4 separate regions of the Homo sapiens genome follow, and regions 1, 2 and 3 are each linked to region 4. The links are contacts of gene promoters, found by promoter capture Hi-C in human tissues and cell types (Jung and others, 2019). All regions are on one chromosome and are shown on one strand. The core of a region is centred on a gene start or on the middle of the fragment in contact, and the rest is flanking DNA. Distances in the headings are between cores, read along the strand shown.

What was found. The method cuts DNA at HindIII sites, captures the fragments that hold promoters and counts their contacts. A contact is called where the count stands out against the background at its distance.
Region 1: a fragment that was not itself captured here is called in contact with the fragment with the promoter of P4HA1 in region 4 in 1 of the 25 tissues and cell types used here (psoas muscle).
Region 2: a fragment that was not itself captured here is called in contact with the fragment with the promoter of P4HA1 in region 4 in 2 of the 25 tissues and cell types used here (mesendoderm cells and thymus).
Region 3: a fragment that was not itself captured here is called in contact with the fragment with the promoter of P4HA1 in region 4 in 1 of the 25 tissues and cell types used here (dorsolateral prefrontal cortex).

What each region holds. Positions count from the first base shown.
Region 1 is chr10:73,490,875-73,494,751 of GRCh38, reverse strand. The region is part of intron 1 of PPP3CB (protein phosphatase 3 catalytic subunit beta); the gene reads left to right. Among named protein-coding and RNA genes, the nearest start is that of PPP3CB-AS1, 2.9 kb to the left of the region's middle. The HindIII fragment of the contact is 4,358 bases long and covers 410-3,877 here.
Region 2 is chr10:72,722,733-72,726,700 of GRCh38, reverse strand. The region is part of intron 1 of MCU (mitochondrial calcium uniporter); the gene reads right to left. Among named protein-coding and RNA genes, the nearest start is that of MIR4676, 3.7 kb to the right of the region's middle. The HindIII fragment of the contact is 5,564 bases long and covers 1-3,968 here.
Region 3 is chr10:72,662,424-72,666,651 of GRCh38, reverse strand. No RefSeq gene overlaps it. Among named protein-coding and RNA genes, the nearest start is that of MCU, 28 kb to the left of the region's middle. The HindIII fragment of the contact is 7,462 bases long and covers 1-4,228 here.
Region 4 is chr10:73,094,806-73,098,750 of GRCh38, reverse strand. It overlaps P4HA1 (prolyl 4-hydroxylase subunit alpha 1), which reads left to right and starts at 1,885. Exons shown (of 15, transcript NM_001017962.3): 1 at 1,885-1,985. RefSeq lists enhancers at 1,435-1,504, 1,749-2,504 and a silencer at 1,535-1,864. The HindIII fragment of the contact is 7,006 bases long and covers 1-3,391 here.

The DNA.
Region 1 (3,877 bases), core at 1,339-3,838, 400 kb before region 4:
GCACAGTATTTAAACACCGTTAGCCTACTTTTTGAAATCTGACTCATATGTTTCCATTAAAATATTTAAAAACAAGGAAACCTTTTTTCTTTTTTTTTTTTAATTAAAAATTTTCAACCTGAGCCTTCTTCGGTTCTTAAAAGAATAATACTAATTTGGCCTGGCGTGGTGGCTCACATCTGTAATCCCAGCACTTTCGGATGCTGAGGCAGGCGGATCGCTTGAACTCAGGAGTTGGAGACCAGCCTGGGCAACATGGCGAAACCTTTTCTCTACCAAAAATACAAAAAATAAAAATTAGCCGGGCATGGTGGCGCGCCCCTGTAGTCCCAGCGGATCGGGAGGCTGAGGCACGAGAATCACTGGAGCCCGAGAGGCAGAAGTTGCAGTGAGCCGAGATTTGCGCCAGTGTGCTCCAACCTGGACGACAGAGCCAGACCCTGTCTCCAAAAACAAAAACAAAAACAAAAACAAAACACTGATTTGCACCTAGGCTTAAGTTAGTAGTATATCCAGTTGGGCCAGGCATTGGAATGAGCTGAATAACGAGTTTATGGAATCCTTAATACAGAGAAATCTTAAAAAAAAAATAGTAATGCAGACATTCATTCTATCAAGAAATCCTGGAGTTTTGTGGGGGTGGGAACGGGACATTGGCTACCTCTTCATTTTCTGACTGTATTTCTGTGTTGTGTGTTCATTTCCCTGGGCACTTTTCACCAGACTGTTAGATGGGGTAACCAATCACATTCCTGAACAATGAGTTTATGCTATCCTTACGTTTGTGAATCTTCTTATTCCTTGTCATATATATGGTAATGTTTTTTCTGTACTGCTTTAATGCAGTGAAAATAAGATTCCAAACATAAGGCAGATTCCTTAGGGGTGAGTTGTGAGTCCAAGGCAGTCATATTTGCAGGTTATTGGTGTGGAATAAAAGCCATTTGATTTAGATAAATAGGAAAGGAGCTTGTTAATATAGAAAATTATAGTTAAATAAAGCTTATGGTTATCATATTTCTGGTGCTTCATTGTGCCCTCTTCATAGAGACAACTTTCATTTCTTTATGGAATTTGTTAACCAGTTGGAATTCCTGTATGGATTATATGTTTTAAAATGGTGTGTAACAGACTAATTTGCACTGCTCATGGAGTCTCCTGCATTTACTGGGAAATTCACCTTTCTTACAGATCCAGAAATTCACTTTTAAATTTCATCTTCAGGATTCTTCCTTGTCTTTTATTCAGTAATTATACTATAATGTGATACCTGATATTAGAGAATACTGGTTGCCTGATGATAAATGATGTGAGTTCAGCTTAAGTTTAACTTGTTAAAATCCAAATTTCTTTTAAGTCCACAATGTGGTGGTAGTTTTGTATCGATACATTTTCATAGTAGTGATATTATGGAGACTGTCTGTTGGCATTGAATGCAAGTAGTCTTTTTCTCCCTGGAATTTTTTTTTTTTTTTTGAGACGGAGTTTCACTCTTGTTGCCCAAGTGGAGTGCAGTGGCGCGATCTCTACTCACTGCAACCTCTGCCTCCTGGGTTCAAGCGATTCTCCTGCCTCAGCCTCCCGAGTAGCTGGGATTATAGGTGCGCGCCACCATGCCCGGTTAATTTTTTGTATTTTTTAGCAGAGACGGGGTTTCACCATGTTGGCCAGGCTGGTCTCAAACTCCTGACCTCATGATCCTCCCACCGTGGCCTCCCAAAGTGTTGGGATTACAGGCGTGAGCCACCGCGCCCGGCCTGCCTCCCTGGAACTTCTTAGTGTCAAAATTTTATACTCCATGCTTGTAGTCATAAGGCCTACATTTTATGGTCATGTAGGTTTTTAAGGGTGTATAGGTCTTTCTGTGTTTAAGATCAGATACCTGAAATTCACTTTTTGTGAAGTTTGGGAGCTTGGAATACTGTAGGTGATTCATGAGTAAATGTGATGAGCTTGTCACTAAAATTATTAGTGGTAATTCCATGTCATTGATTATGGGTCATTAGGTTTTTGGTTGATTAAATTCAGTTCTGAGCCTACTCCAGCTGCTGGCTCAAGTCAAATTCTTCCCCTGTTTGAAAGTTGATCTAACCCACCTGATTAAGCAAGATGGTATATACCCTTTTAATTATATTCTATTAAGCATTCTTTAGCTATGTAGGAAATAAGAAAGTGGAAAAAAATTAGGAAAAATATCTAACCGTATCTGCATGTGTGCTTTCTTACCACATCAGCAAAGCTGGTATAGGTAATTGAAGCACAAAATCCTGAATTTATATATATTGCTTTCCCTCCTCCCCACAAAGTTTACTTGACCTGAATTGCCCAGATACCTCCTTTTTTCCCCAGATACTTAAAAAATGTACGTTTTGCTTTGTATACCAGGTTCTAGATTTGTAAAGCTGGATTGTCTCTTGAGATTATCAAGACTGTTAGTATTAATAAAAAATTCACCTTTTTACTTAGAGAGCATTGTCAGTATTGGGCATATGTTCATTTTAGCACCTACAATGTGAGTCATTTTCTTAACATTATTTTATTTCATGGGTTATAGTAACCTCAAATTATCAGACTTTCAGATTGAACCAAAATGCTGAATTTATGTGTTTTAATTTTTTTTAAGCTAAAGTATTTCTGATTGACAACGTTAGAATTCATTTGGATTCTGTTGCCAGTTGCCCTGCTTATAAATCTGAAGTCATTTGGCTAAAGTGTTTTCTAGTAGCTTTCCTTTAGGAGGATTACTTTTTGTTTATTTATTTATTTATTTATTTATTTATTTTTGAGATGGAGTTTCGCTCTTCTTGCCTAGACTGGAGTGCAATGGCGCAATCTCGGCTCACTGCAACCTCCACCTCCCGGGTTCAAACGATTCTCCTGCCTCAACCTCCCAAGTAGCTGGGATTACAGGCATGTGCCACCACGCCCGGCTAATTTTGTATTTTTAGTAGAGACGACATTTCTCCATGTTGGTCAGGCTGGTCTCGATCTCCTGACCTCAGGTGATCCACCCACCCTGGCCTCCCAAAATGCTGGGATTATAGGCATGAGCCACCGTGCCTAGCCAGATTACTTATTTTCAGATAACCCATATAGCCTTGGTGTGACATAGCTACTTCAGTGTTTCTTGCTAGTTCTATTTCATTATATTTTAAAGCAGCTTGAATTTTAATTTTTGTTTACAAAGTCTATTTTGTGGACTTATCTGTGTAAAAAGAACTAGAAATTATTTTTCTTTTACTTTCCACTCTCATTACTGTTAACCATACTAAAATAAATCTTCAGGCCAGGCGCAGCAGTGGTTCATGCCTGTAATCCCAGCACTTTGGGAGGCCGAGGCGGGGGGATCACTTGAGGTCAGGAGTTTGAGACTAGCCTGGCCAACATGGTGAAACCCCATCTCTACTAAAAATACAAAAATTTGGCTGGGCACAGTGGCTCACGCCTGTAATCCCAGCACTTTGGGAGGCTGAGGCAGGTGGATCACGAGATCAGGAGTTCGAGACCAGCCTGACCAACATGGTGAAACCCCGTCTCTACTAAAAATACAAAAATTAGCCTGGTGTGGTGGTACACGCCTGTAATCCCAGCTACTCGGGAGGCTGAGGCAGGAGAATCGCTTGAACCTGCGAGGCGGAGATTGCAGTGAGCCGAGTTCATGCCACTGCACTCCAGCCTGGGCGACAGAGCAAGACTGTCAAAAAAAAAAAAAAAAAAAAAAAAAAAAAACAATAAAAACAAACAAACAAAAATTAGCAGGGTGTGGTGGCACGCACCTGTAATCCTAACTACTTGGGAGGCTGAGGCAGGAGAATCACTTGAACCTGAGAAGTGGAGGCTGCAGTGAGCCGAGATTGTGCCACTGCACCCTGCCTGG
Region 2 (3,968 bases), core at 752-3,251, 370 kb after region 4:
ACCAGAAGTGTTTCAAATACTGAATTTTGATTTTTTTTAGATTAGGAATACTCAACCTATATCATTAAATATGCATATATCATATGTACATATACTTTGAACCAGAAATCCCACTACTTATCTCATAAACGTACCTGTATATAAGGATATGTACAAGATGCTTATTACAATGTTCACAGTGACAAAAAAAAACAGGAAACAAAGTGAATGTCCACCAGTAAAATATCAGCTGAATAAACAAAAGTACAGCTGCATCAAGGAATAATCCCATATATGATGGCATATTATACGGCCATTGAATTAATGACAGAGCTGTATCAGTTGACTTAGAGGGAGCTCTACTATTTATTACTATGTGAGAAAAACAAAATACAGGAAAGAATGCAAATATGATCCAATTTTACAGAACGAACTACACACACACACACACACACACACACACACGTGTGTGTGTGTGCCTGAAGTATGTGTGTGCTGATAGACAAAAAACAAATAGGGTGGAGCCAGGTGCCACGGCCAATGCCTACGATTCTATCTACTCCAGAGGCTGAGGTGGGAGGATCCTTTGAGCCCAGGAGTTCAAGACCAGCCTGGCAATACAGCAGGATCCTATCTTAAAATATATAAATAAATAAAAACAGATAGGATAATCATTCAAGTATGAAGAAAAATATGGAAGGATATATATACGACATGGTTATCTTGGAGCAAAATGGGAAGGAGAGAGAATCAGGCAAGAAAGGAGGAAATAAATATGATTTTAGTTATATGAAAGGCAGTATGTATAAACACATAGATTAATTTTTTTTCTTTTTTTTCAGACAGTTTCGCTCTTGTTGCCTAGGCTGGAGTGCAATGGTGCAATCTTGGCTCATTGCAACCTCCACCTCCTGGGTTCAAGCAATTCTTCTGCCTCAATCTCCCAAGTAGCTGAGATTACAGGTGCCCACCACCATGCCCAGCTAATTTTTGTATTTTAGTAGAGATGGGGTTTCACCATGTTGGTCAGCTGGTCTCGAACTGACCTTAGGTGATCCACCGACCTCAGCCTCCCAAAGTGTTGGGATTATAGGCGTGAGCCACCGCACCCGGCCTACATTAATATTTTTTAAATGAAAATAGTATGAGCCAGGCACAATGGCTCATACCTGTAATCCCAACACTTTGGGAGGCCCCAGGTGGGAGGATCATTTGAAGGCAGGAGTTAGAGACCAGCTTAGGCAACATAGTGGGACTCCATCTCCATAAAAAACATTTTTAAATTAGCCAGGTGTGGGCCAGGCGCAGTGGCTCATGCCTGTAATCTCAGCACTTTGGGATGCTGAGGCAAGCGGATCACAAGGTCAGGAGATCGAGGCTATCCTGGCTAACGCGGTGAAACCCCGTCTCTACTAAAAAATACAAAAAATTAGCCAGGTGTGGTAGCAGGCACCTGCAGTCCCAGCTTCTCGGGAGGCTGAGGCAGGAGAATGGCGGGAACCCGGGAGGTGGAGCTTACAGTGAGCCGAGATCACACCACTGCACTCCAGCCTGGGTGACAGAGCGAGACTCCGTCTCAAAAAAAAAAAATTAGCCAGGTGTGGTGGCGTGTGTATGTAGACCCAGCTACTTGAAGAGGCTGAGGTGGGAGGATCCCCTGAACCCAGGAAGTCGAGGCTCAGGAGAGTAAGCCATGCTTGTGCCACTGCACTATAGCCTGGATGACAACATGAGACCTTGTTTCAAAAAAATAAAAAATAAACACAGTGTGAAAGTTATTAAAAACCAGCTAATCCAACCATCCAGATGCCCCAAAGATTCGTTTATTCAACACTAAGTGCTTATTTTGTGCAATGAACTGGGGAAAAGGCTGGCATCTCCTTCCCAATAACAAATCTAGTAACGAAGAATCCATCTATTCCAAAGGATTTCCATTCCATTTTGAAGCTGATCTAATAAGAGAAAATTCTTCCATATGCTGAGCTGCAATTTGCTTCTCCATAAAGAGAAGGAATAAATCTAATCTAACCTTCATCCACATAGCTGTCTTCAAATATGTTCAGGACTAATACTGTATTTACTTGGCAACATTTACAGGTAGTTCCCTACTTTCATATATAATACAGCCCTTTAAATGTGCCTAAGAGTTGAATGTCCAGATTCAGACTTAAAGGACTTAAAATGTTAAAAAGTGACAAACTTGTGGGGGAGGGGGTGGTGGTAGAAATGCAGTTAAAATCACAAAGGATTAGTTTCCCTAATATACAAAGAACTCCCACAAATTACAAAGAAAAAGACCAACATCTCTATGAGAGTTAAGGAACATGAGTTTTAGTTCACAGCAAAGGGAAAGACAGTACTTTTAAAAGAATCTCACTTCACTTATACGAGAAAAACATATTAAAGCTTCATTGAGATACCATTTTTTCACCAGTCAGAAAGTTTAGTACCACATTGTATTGGCAAAGATGTAAGCAGAGAGTAATTCTGATACCTTCTACTTCAAGGAATACATTCTATAAACTCATACACAAGCAATGATGAATGCACAAGGTTATTCACCATAGCAATGCAAATAACTGCAAAAGACTGGAAACAACATACATGTGTAATAGGGAATTGATTTTTTAAAAATATAGTATATCTACATAACTATATTAAAGAATCACAAGCTATTTCTTAATATTCTTGATGAGCAAATCTAGAGACAAAAGGATGGGCTTTCCAATGACCTTAGAAGAATCTGACAGTTTGTGTTAAACGTTCTCGAAGATACCATCTGAAACAGATGGACTTTTAAAGATGTTCTGAATAACATTATTAAAATTTGTGGCTGTTACTTGTGAGTGTAAAAGAACATGGTGAGGGCGGTAACCTATTCTATCTGCAGAGCAACAAACTACAAAAGTCATCAGGTGAAAACGAGGAAAGAATGTTTACCTTTAAAATCCTCAAATGTGCTACCAAAAAATATATATATTTTGAAAAGCACGTTGCAAGCACAAATACTGATACAGCCACTCTGGAATATTATGCTGCCATTAAATGTGTATGACAAGTTTGTTAAATATTTGGTATAATGCTGAGCAAAAAAAGCAAAATATAGTTACATGGGTTTTTTTCTTCTTTGAGTCATCTTCGATGGTAAGTTATATGGTTTTATGTTGTATATAAAGATGACCTATTCTTTTATCAAAGCAAGATGAATTCCATTAAAAAATGTCTAAAAGGAAATACATAAAAATGTTAACAATGGTTGTCTCTGAGTAGCACTTTTTCTTTCTTCCATTTTTCTGTACATCTCAATTTCTATGATAAAAGATTTAGTACTTTTATCATAGAAAGAAATTTTTTAAAAATGAATGATTCTGAATATGTTAGAAAAAATAAGAATCATAGCATCATATATAGAACAGAAAACTAAGTTTATTAATTTAATCTTCGTTCTGACAAATTTGCTAATTTTTAAAAACTTAGCTGCAAAAAAAAGACTAGATAATAAACATTTTCTTTTTTTCTTTTTTTTAAGACAGAATCTCGCTCTGTCGCCCAGGCTGGAGTGCAGTGGCCCAATCTCGGCTCACTGCAAGCTCCGCCTCCTGGGTTCATGCCATTCTCCTGCCTCAGCCTCCCAAGTTGCTGGGACTACAGGCACCTGCCACCACACCCAGCTAATTTTTTGTATCTTTAGTAGAGATGGGGTTTCACCATGTTAGCCAGGATGGTCTTGATCTCCTGACCTCATGATCCACCTGCCTCAGCCTCCCAAAGTGCTGGGATTACAGGCGTGAGCCACCACACCCAGCCAAAAATAAACATTTTCTGAAGATAACAGTAATAGAATAAAGGAAATTAAGCTTTGATAAGGAAAAGGGACTTTTTCTCCCATGTCCAGTAGTCTTGAGAAAAGAAATAATGCAAATTTTATTTAAAATGTCACCCAAGAAAGTAACAAAAGGCCTCATAAAAAAGAAACAGATTTTGTCTCT
Region 3 (4,228 bases), core at 1,365-3,864, 430 kb after region 4:
TACTTTATAAAATACCCAATTTCAGGTATTCTGTTATAAGCAACAGAAAATGGACAACCTCCCTCTTACAGATAAAATGTCTATCTTCTGCTTTTGATTATTTTTCTTTAAACTAAATATTTATACATTTTCTTTTTTTTTTTTTTTTTTTTTTGAGACAGGGTCTCACTGTGTCACCCAGGCTGGAGTGCAGTGGTGTGATCTGGGCTCACTATAACCTCCACCTTCCGGGTTCAAGCTATTCTCATGCCTCAGCCTCCTAAGTAGCTGGAATTACAGATGCCCACCACCATGCCCAGCTAGTTTCTGTATTTTTAGTACAGATAGGGTTTCACCATGTTGGCCAGGCTGGTCTAAATTCCTGACCTCAAATGATCTGCCCCCCTCGACCTCCCAAAGTGCTGGAATTAAAGGTGTGAGCCACCACACCCAGCAATTTATACAATTTCTAGATGTCTGTTATTACTTCATTTCCTGTTGCTGAGCCTTGCTTTGTTATCTTAATAAAGCATAAATAATACCTCCAGTGGAACTGGGTTTACTCCTGTGACTGATCAACCCCACCCTCCTAATTAGAGATTTATTAGTCATTCAGAGAGTAGTACAGTCAGCATCAAAATATTGTGCCACAGGCATATATATAAACACTTTTTAAAATAAATCACTTTAGGAGGCCAAGGCGGGCGGATCATGAGGTTAGGAGTTCGAGACTAGCCTGGCCAACATGGTGAAACCCCATCTCTACTAAAAATACAAAAAATTAGCCAGGCATGGTGGCACACACCTGTAGTCCCAGCTACTCTGGAGGCAGAGGCAGAAGAATGGCTTGAACCTGGGAGGCGGAGGTTGCAGTGAGCCGAGATTGTGCCACTGTACTGTAGCCTGCGTGACACAGTGACACTCTGTCTCAAAAAAAAAAAATCTGAAAAAATAGCCAAGAAATTTACCAATCACGATGTCTACTCTTCATCTATATGAGATTAATACACTTAATATTTAGTAAGAAAGTCCTCATAGTTACAAAAGTACTATTTTCTATGTTTTCACCAGCTCACAAAAGTCTTCCTCCTCCTCTCCTACCCAACCAGTAACCTTCAAATGTTCAAATTATGCAAGGAAAATTTAGAATGAGGGGATTCTCAGGAGAAAGATTTATTGTTTTTCAGAAAACATTTAAGAGCTTTTAAGAGCTATCTGCAACAACAGGGATGGTTAAGTAATCTATAGTGAATATACCCAATGGAATACTATATAGTTTTTGTTTTATATTTTTTCTAGAATACTATATCGTTTTTTAAAATAATGACATAGGGTGGGTGTGGTGGCTCATACCTGTAATCCCAGCACTTTGGGAGGCCAAGGCGGGTGGATCACCTGAGGTCAGGAGTTTGAGACCAGCCTGGCCAATATGGTGAAACCCCGTCTCCCTACAAAAAATACAAAAATTAGCTGGGCGTGGTGGCACTCACATGTAATCTCAGCTACTTGGGAGGCTGAGGCCAGGGAATCACTTGAACCCAGGAGGCGGAGGTTGCAGTAAGCTCAGATTGCACCACTGCACTCTAGCCTGGGCGACAGAACAAGACTCCGTCTCAAAAAAAAAAAAAAAAAAAAAAAAAAGACATAAATCTATCTTCATTAATGTGAAAAGATATTTATGATACATAAACTGATAAAAGGAGGTTATAAAAACATGTTTTGTTGAACATAAGAAAAAAAAAGGCCAGGTGCAGTGGCTTACGTCTATAATCCCAGCACTTTGGGAGGCCGAGGCAGGTGGATCACAAGGTCAGGAGCTCAAGAATAGCCTGGCTAACATGGTGAAACCCCATCTCTACTCAAAACACAAAAATGAGCCAGGTATGGTGGCGTGTGCCTGTAATCCCAGCTGTTCGGGTGGCTGAGGGAGGAGAATGGCTTGAACAAGGGAGGTGGAGGTTGCGGTGAGCCGAGATCGTGCCACTGCACTCCAGCCTGGGTGATAGAGCGAGACTCCGTCTCAAAAAATAATAATAAAATAAAAATATAAAATAAAATAAGAAAAGAAAGATAGTGTCTTGGTGTTGAACTCAAAATAACTTTAATTTTCTTCATTTTAAAAAATTTTGATATTTTAACAATTAGCATTTTTTATTTTCATAGACAAAACAAAAAATATATTCCTACTTTTAAAAAGGAATAAATATGAGTTGTTTGGTGATGAGAAAACAGTCTCTCTCTCTCTTTCTCTCCCTCCTTCCCTCTCTACCTTTCAATTCTTCTTGCTTCTGATTGGCTTGCTACTACATACAGGTTCTAACCCTAAGGTGGGAAAGATGGCTGCCCCCAGCTCCAGACTCCAAAGTATACCCACAATTAACTCCAGCAGATAGAGATGATCTTCTTTATTAGCTGTAGCAGAAAAGTCACAGGGCAGCTTGACTTGCATCAGGAACCAACAATGTGGTGGGAAGTGAGTGGGGGTAGCTAAGGAATGTAATTTTCTGATGGGATAAGTCTTGGTCACAAGATATCTCCTATAGCCAGGGAGGAGAGGGAGTGAGTCCACACTGAGTTCATTCCCAGTAGGACAGACTAGTTTTGTCATCTTGAAGGAAAGAGGAAGGGTTGCTGAAAAGACTGAAATAATAGATATATATTACAATATTTATTCTAGACTCATATTAATAATAAATTTTAAAAGGAATTTCACACTGGGTTTTTCAGTGTTTGGGAAGTGGAAGGCACTATTCAATATCAAAACCCAATACTTATTCATTCAATAAATATTCATCGATTATCTATTATGTGCCCAGTAGCCTATACACTACTGGGATGGGAAGTAAACAAAAAGCAAACAAGCAAAATATCCCTACTCTCATGGATCATACATGTTCAGACATCAGCAACAACTCTGAAAAATGAGTCTGGAATTGTCCTCTTGCTGGAAATTTTATTGCAGTGGTTGAGATGAAAGAAAATGCACTTTGGCTTTTATGTAATTATTTTTTCACTTGTCTGTGAACACCATAATAAGATCCTATTCTTGAAAGAAACTAAGCTAAGTCATGAGATTTACAGGCAAGTGAGAGGAGTACTGGCTTTTATGCCTTGATATTAATGGAAAATTGCATTATCTAGACACACTCCAAGGTGTTCAGCAGCATCCTTGAGCTTTAAACTTTGTTACTTAACCTGCCCTTACAGTGACACTAGGCAAACCAATCTTGGGTTGCATATTTAATTTCTTTTTTTTTTTTTTTTTTTTGAGACGGAGTCTCACTCTTTCGCCCAGGCTGGACTGCAGTGGCGCTATCTCGGCCCACTGCCAGCTCCGCCTCCCGGGTTCACGCCATTCTCCTGCCTCAGCCTCCCGAGTAGCTGGGACTACAGGCGCCCGCCACCATGCCCGGCTAATTTTTTGTATTTTTAGTAGGGACGGGATTTCACCATGTTAGCCAGGATGGTCTCGATCTCCTGACCTCGTGATCTGCCCACCTCAGCCTCCCAAAGTGCTGGGATTACAGGCGTGAGCCACGCGCCTGGCCTGCATATTTAATTTCAGGCAAAAATTCTTTTTACAGTTGACTCAGCAAAGAACAAATTTCTTTTTACAAGCCAGTAGGTTAAGGTACATGGATCAGAACAAGATACTCATTTTGTTTCTTGTTAGTGTTTATTCTTGACATAGCAAACACCTAACACTGAATTCAAAAAGCTTTGGAAGGAGAATCTAAAGCAAGTTTTAGCTAACGTATTTTTATGCTTTTTTAAAAAAACTGTTAAGAACGGCCAGGTACAGTGGCACATGCCTGTAATCCCAGCACTTTGGGAGGCCGAGGCAGGTGGATCAGACCATCTTGGCCAACATGGTGAAACCCTGTCTCTACTAAAGTACAAATAATTAGCCAGGCGTGGTGGCATGTGCCTGTAATCCCAGCTACTTGGGAGGCTGAGGGTGGGGAATAGCTTGAACCAGGGAGGTGGAGGTTGCAGTGAGCTGAGATCGTACCACTGCACTACAGCCTGGCGACAGAGCAAGAATTCCGTCTCAAAAAAAAAAAAAAAAAACAACCTGTTAAGAACATAGCAATTGTAATTCCCTACCATAGTGAATCTCAACTTCAGCTACACATAAGAATCATCTTTTAAAAACTACTGGAATGGGGGTGGGGCCAGGCGCAGTGGCTCACCCCTGTAATCCCAACACTTTGGGAGGGGGAGGTGGGTGGATCACCTGAGGTCAGGA
Region 4 (3,945 bases), core at 636-3,135:
TACAGGTGTTTGCCACCATGCCCAGCTAATTTTTGCATTTTTAGTAGAGACAGGGTTTCACCATGTTGGCCAGGATGGTCTTGATCTCCTGACCTTGTGATCCGTCTGCCTTGGCCTCGCAAAGTGCAGGGATTACAGGTGTGAGCCACCGCACGCCCTGCCTCTTTGGTCTTATAATTACTTTATACTCCTAAAAAGTATTGAGGACTCCAAAAAGCTTTTATGTGGATCATATTTATCAACATTTACTATATTAGGAATTAAAACAAACATATAAAATATTTATTCATTTAAAACAACAATAATAAACCTGTTACATGTTAACATAACATAAATAACTTTTTTTTTGAGAGAGGGTCTGGCCATGTTGCCCAGGCTGATTTCGAACTCCTGGGCTCAGGTGATCTTCCCGCCTCGGCCTCCCAAAGTGCTGGGATTACAGGTGTGAGCCACTTCATTTGGCCTAATAACATATTTTTAATGAAAAATAACTATTTTCCAAAGCAAAATAATTTAGTGAGAAGAGTGGCATTATTTTACATTTCTGCAAATCTCTTCAGTGTCTGGGCTAATAGAAGATTCTCATATCTGTGTCTGCGTTCCATCTGTATCACAGGCATGTAGTCTCTGGAAGACCTCACTGTATTGTTATTAGAGTGAAAAAGGCAGTAAGTCTTAGTATGAAAATAAAGTCTTAGTATGAAAATAATTTTGACCTTATGGATTCCCTGACTACGCTTTCAGAACCATTGATTTAGACATCATTATATCTACTTTTTAGTTGCCTAGTGCTCCCAGAGTACCCTCTCTCTCTTTCTGTAGCTATATAATCACTCACCTCCTGCGTAAGTCAAATGTTAATTATTGCTATACTTTTTAGCATACATGGAAAACTTTAGAAACCACAATTCTTAATGAATAACAAGTCTTAGCAACTCATTTTTCTCTTTAACTGACAAGGAAAAAATTATCTTCTTCATTGTATTCTCCCTCATAGTACAGGGAGATATAAAGAAACCCTTGGTTTGGGGTTACTTTATAACTAAGGCAAATGTTAGACTAAGATCAAACGCAACATTGGGTGCCTTATATAAATTAATGTTACTGGAGAATCTAATATTTACTAAGTCATTTCTGTGTGTGAGGCATGTGTTAAGTGCTTTACATACATTATCTCATTTTATTCTCACAAGAATCTTACAAGATGGGTAGTACCGTCATTTCTATTTTACAGATGAGTAAACGGATACGGAGAGGTTGTTAATGCCTAGTGTTACACACAGGATTGAGGCAGGATTTGAATTGAGATAACCTGACCCTGGAGCTCTTAGTCTATTATCTACTGATAAGGTATAAAGGTAGGAGATAGAGCACGATTAGTATAAAATGAGTGCTGAGATGTGAGAGGAACAAGACAGCTGAGATACCAAGACTGAATCTCTATTATTTTCCACCCTAGAAAAATTCTGCTTTATTTTCTACACTCCCACGTTCCTCTTCTCATTTTTAAGATACTTTATTGCCGGCGGCCTCGTCGCTTAGGCCTGACGCGGACCCTGAAATCAAGGAGGCAAACTGAACAGGAGCGGGGGAAACCCCGTGGTAACCACGGTAACGGTGGCGGGGCGAGAACCCTGCGCAGGCGCGTTACATCCCACTCCCGCTTACCCACACCACGGCGGCCGGTCCCAGCCACTCCTCTCGGCCTCAGACTCCACGGGCCGGCCACGGGTGGGGGCAGCAGGGAGGCACGGGCTTGGCGCCTGCGCAGTCGCCGGGGCGCTGGTGTGATCGAGCTCACGTAGCGAGGGCTGCAGTCGCCTCCTCCCTGGCGCTGCCATCGCGGCCTAGAGGTTATAAAAGGGCTAACGGGCTCCCTCTGCTGCCCAGTCGCGCCGCCAGCGGGCTGAGGGTAGGAAGTAGCCGCTCCGAGTGGAGGCGACTGGGGGCTGAAGAGCGCGCCGCCCTCTCGTCCCACTTTCCAGGTGAGACGCTCCCTCGATCCCGGAGACTGAGGCCACTGGGCAGCCGTGGACCTTCTCGGACGGCTGCGGCGATCCATTCCTTCCCGCTGTGGTGGTACTTCTGGGGCGGGGGTTCCCCAGGTTACCACAGCAGCCTCGGTTCCTTCCCCTCGGGAGACTCGGCCCCTCTCCCTGCGCCACGCGACTCCCGGCGCCCGCGCTCCTTCGTGCCCCCCTTCCCACCTCTGTCCCTAGTGCGCCTCGGACCGCTGGGGCTGCTGCAGCCTCAGTCCCCGCCCTAGGGACCAGGACTTTCTTGAATTTTCCTTCCCGGGGAGGAATCACTCTGTTGCTTTTTTTTTTTTCCAAGTTCCCCTGCACCTGGTCCTCCCTAACGAGGCTAAGGGGAACGCAAGCGCGGGGCGTGGGCTTTTGGCCGCCACAGCCGCAGATGGTTCGCATGTGGCGGTGGAGAGCGGATTTTAAGGCTTGGAGCTGGATCCGCAGCGCGCCAGGCATTTTTGCCCTATCGAAAGTCGCCGGGAGCTGGGGGGACCTCCCCAGAAAGTTCCGGCTGAACTCATCTGTTGCGCGCAGCGGTGCAGCATTAGCTGCCAGACGTAGCCCGGGGCGCCGAGCTTTCTGCTCGTAGCGCCGAGGAAGTAGGCTCTCAGGTCACCTCGTCGTCAGGGAAGCTTCCTTCCCTCTTCTTCCCCATAACTTTTTTTAAAAAGAGACAAGAGCTCTTCTCTCAATCTCTGTCTCTCTGTCTCTCTCTGCCGAGAATTTGCAGCTTTTAAAAGTCCACATCAGTCCAACAAATTCCATGGTTGTGTGAGGATTTTGAGTTGGATTACATGGCTGGCCCCCGGATGTATGTTTCAATGGGGAGGAAGGATGGTATGATAACTGTGAGACTCTTTCTCCTAAATAATCGACTCTGTTACATACAAATTCAATGTTTAGACACTAACATCTTACGCGTTCCGGATAGAGTGAAGACTCTTGGAATTTTGCACTGTTTTCTTTAAGAAAGGGTTGAAGAAGCAGCTAGATCCTCTTTTAGGAATTGATCTAAAAGGCCAAAGAGACTTGCCAATTTCCACTTAACTGTTTCTGGTTTCTCCGAGAGCAGTGGTTCTCGGACTTTCGCTTGGAATGCACTCGGAGGGGATGAAATAGCCACTACGTGAAGGGGGGAGGGGCAAAGACGTGGCAGCAGCGTTCTTTCATCAATTTTTTACTCTTTTTTTTTTTTTTTTTTAAAGTTCTGGTTAGAAACGTATTTCCCCTTTTAGGTTTAGACGTAGCTTATGAATGAGGCTAGTCTTTTCCTAAAATAATCAGATGAAGAATTCAGTCTGCATAGCAGGAACGTTGGAAGTTAATTTAAAAAACATTTTAAAGGGATTTTTAGAATCAAGTTTCTATGGAGAAAATCGGTATCCTAAGACGATATATTCAAGAAGCTGAAAGTGAACAACCTCAACTATATTTTGTCTTCATGTGAAATGTGAATACACACCCCGTGATTTTTTTTTTTTTTTTTTTTTTTTTTTAGCTTGTGAGCGTAATTTAAGAATCTGAAATGTGAACTTCAAATTTTACTTTTTTCTTTATGTGGGAAAAGAGACTTTATCACTTACCTTTAATAAAATTCATAGTCAGTTTTGGTTTTGGGACATTGTGCCTTAAGTCCTGCCATTGTTTTTGATAGCTGATGACAAATGTTTCTTAGATTTACATAGACTAACTAGGAAAAGGACTATTTCTGTCTCTTTTAAATGGGTAGTGCTGTTTTTATTGACATTTTGAAATGAGTTTTATTTTGAAGTACTGAAAATCAGGACTTTGGTAGGCGGATAATTACATTGGCCATTTTGTGTTTTGGTAACTTAGATGGTAAAACAGTTGAAAAATGTGTACAACTTTTAATTATGCCAAAAAAATTAGTGCAAAAGACTATTGAAAAAAAGTTTTA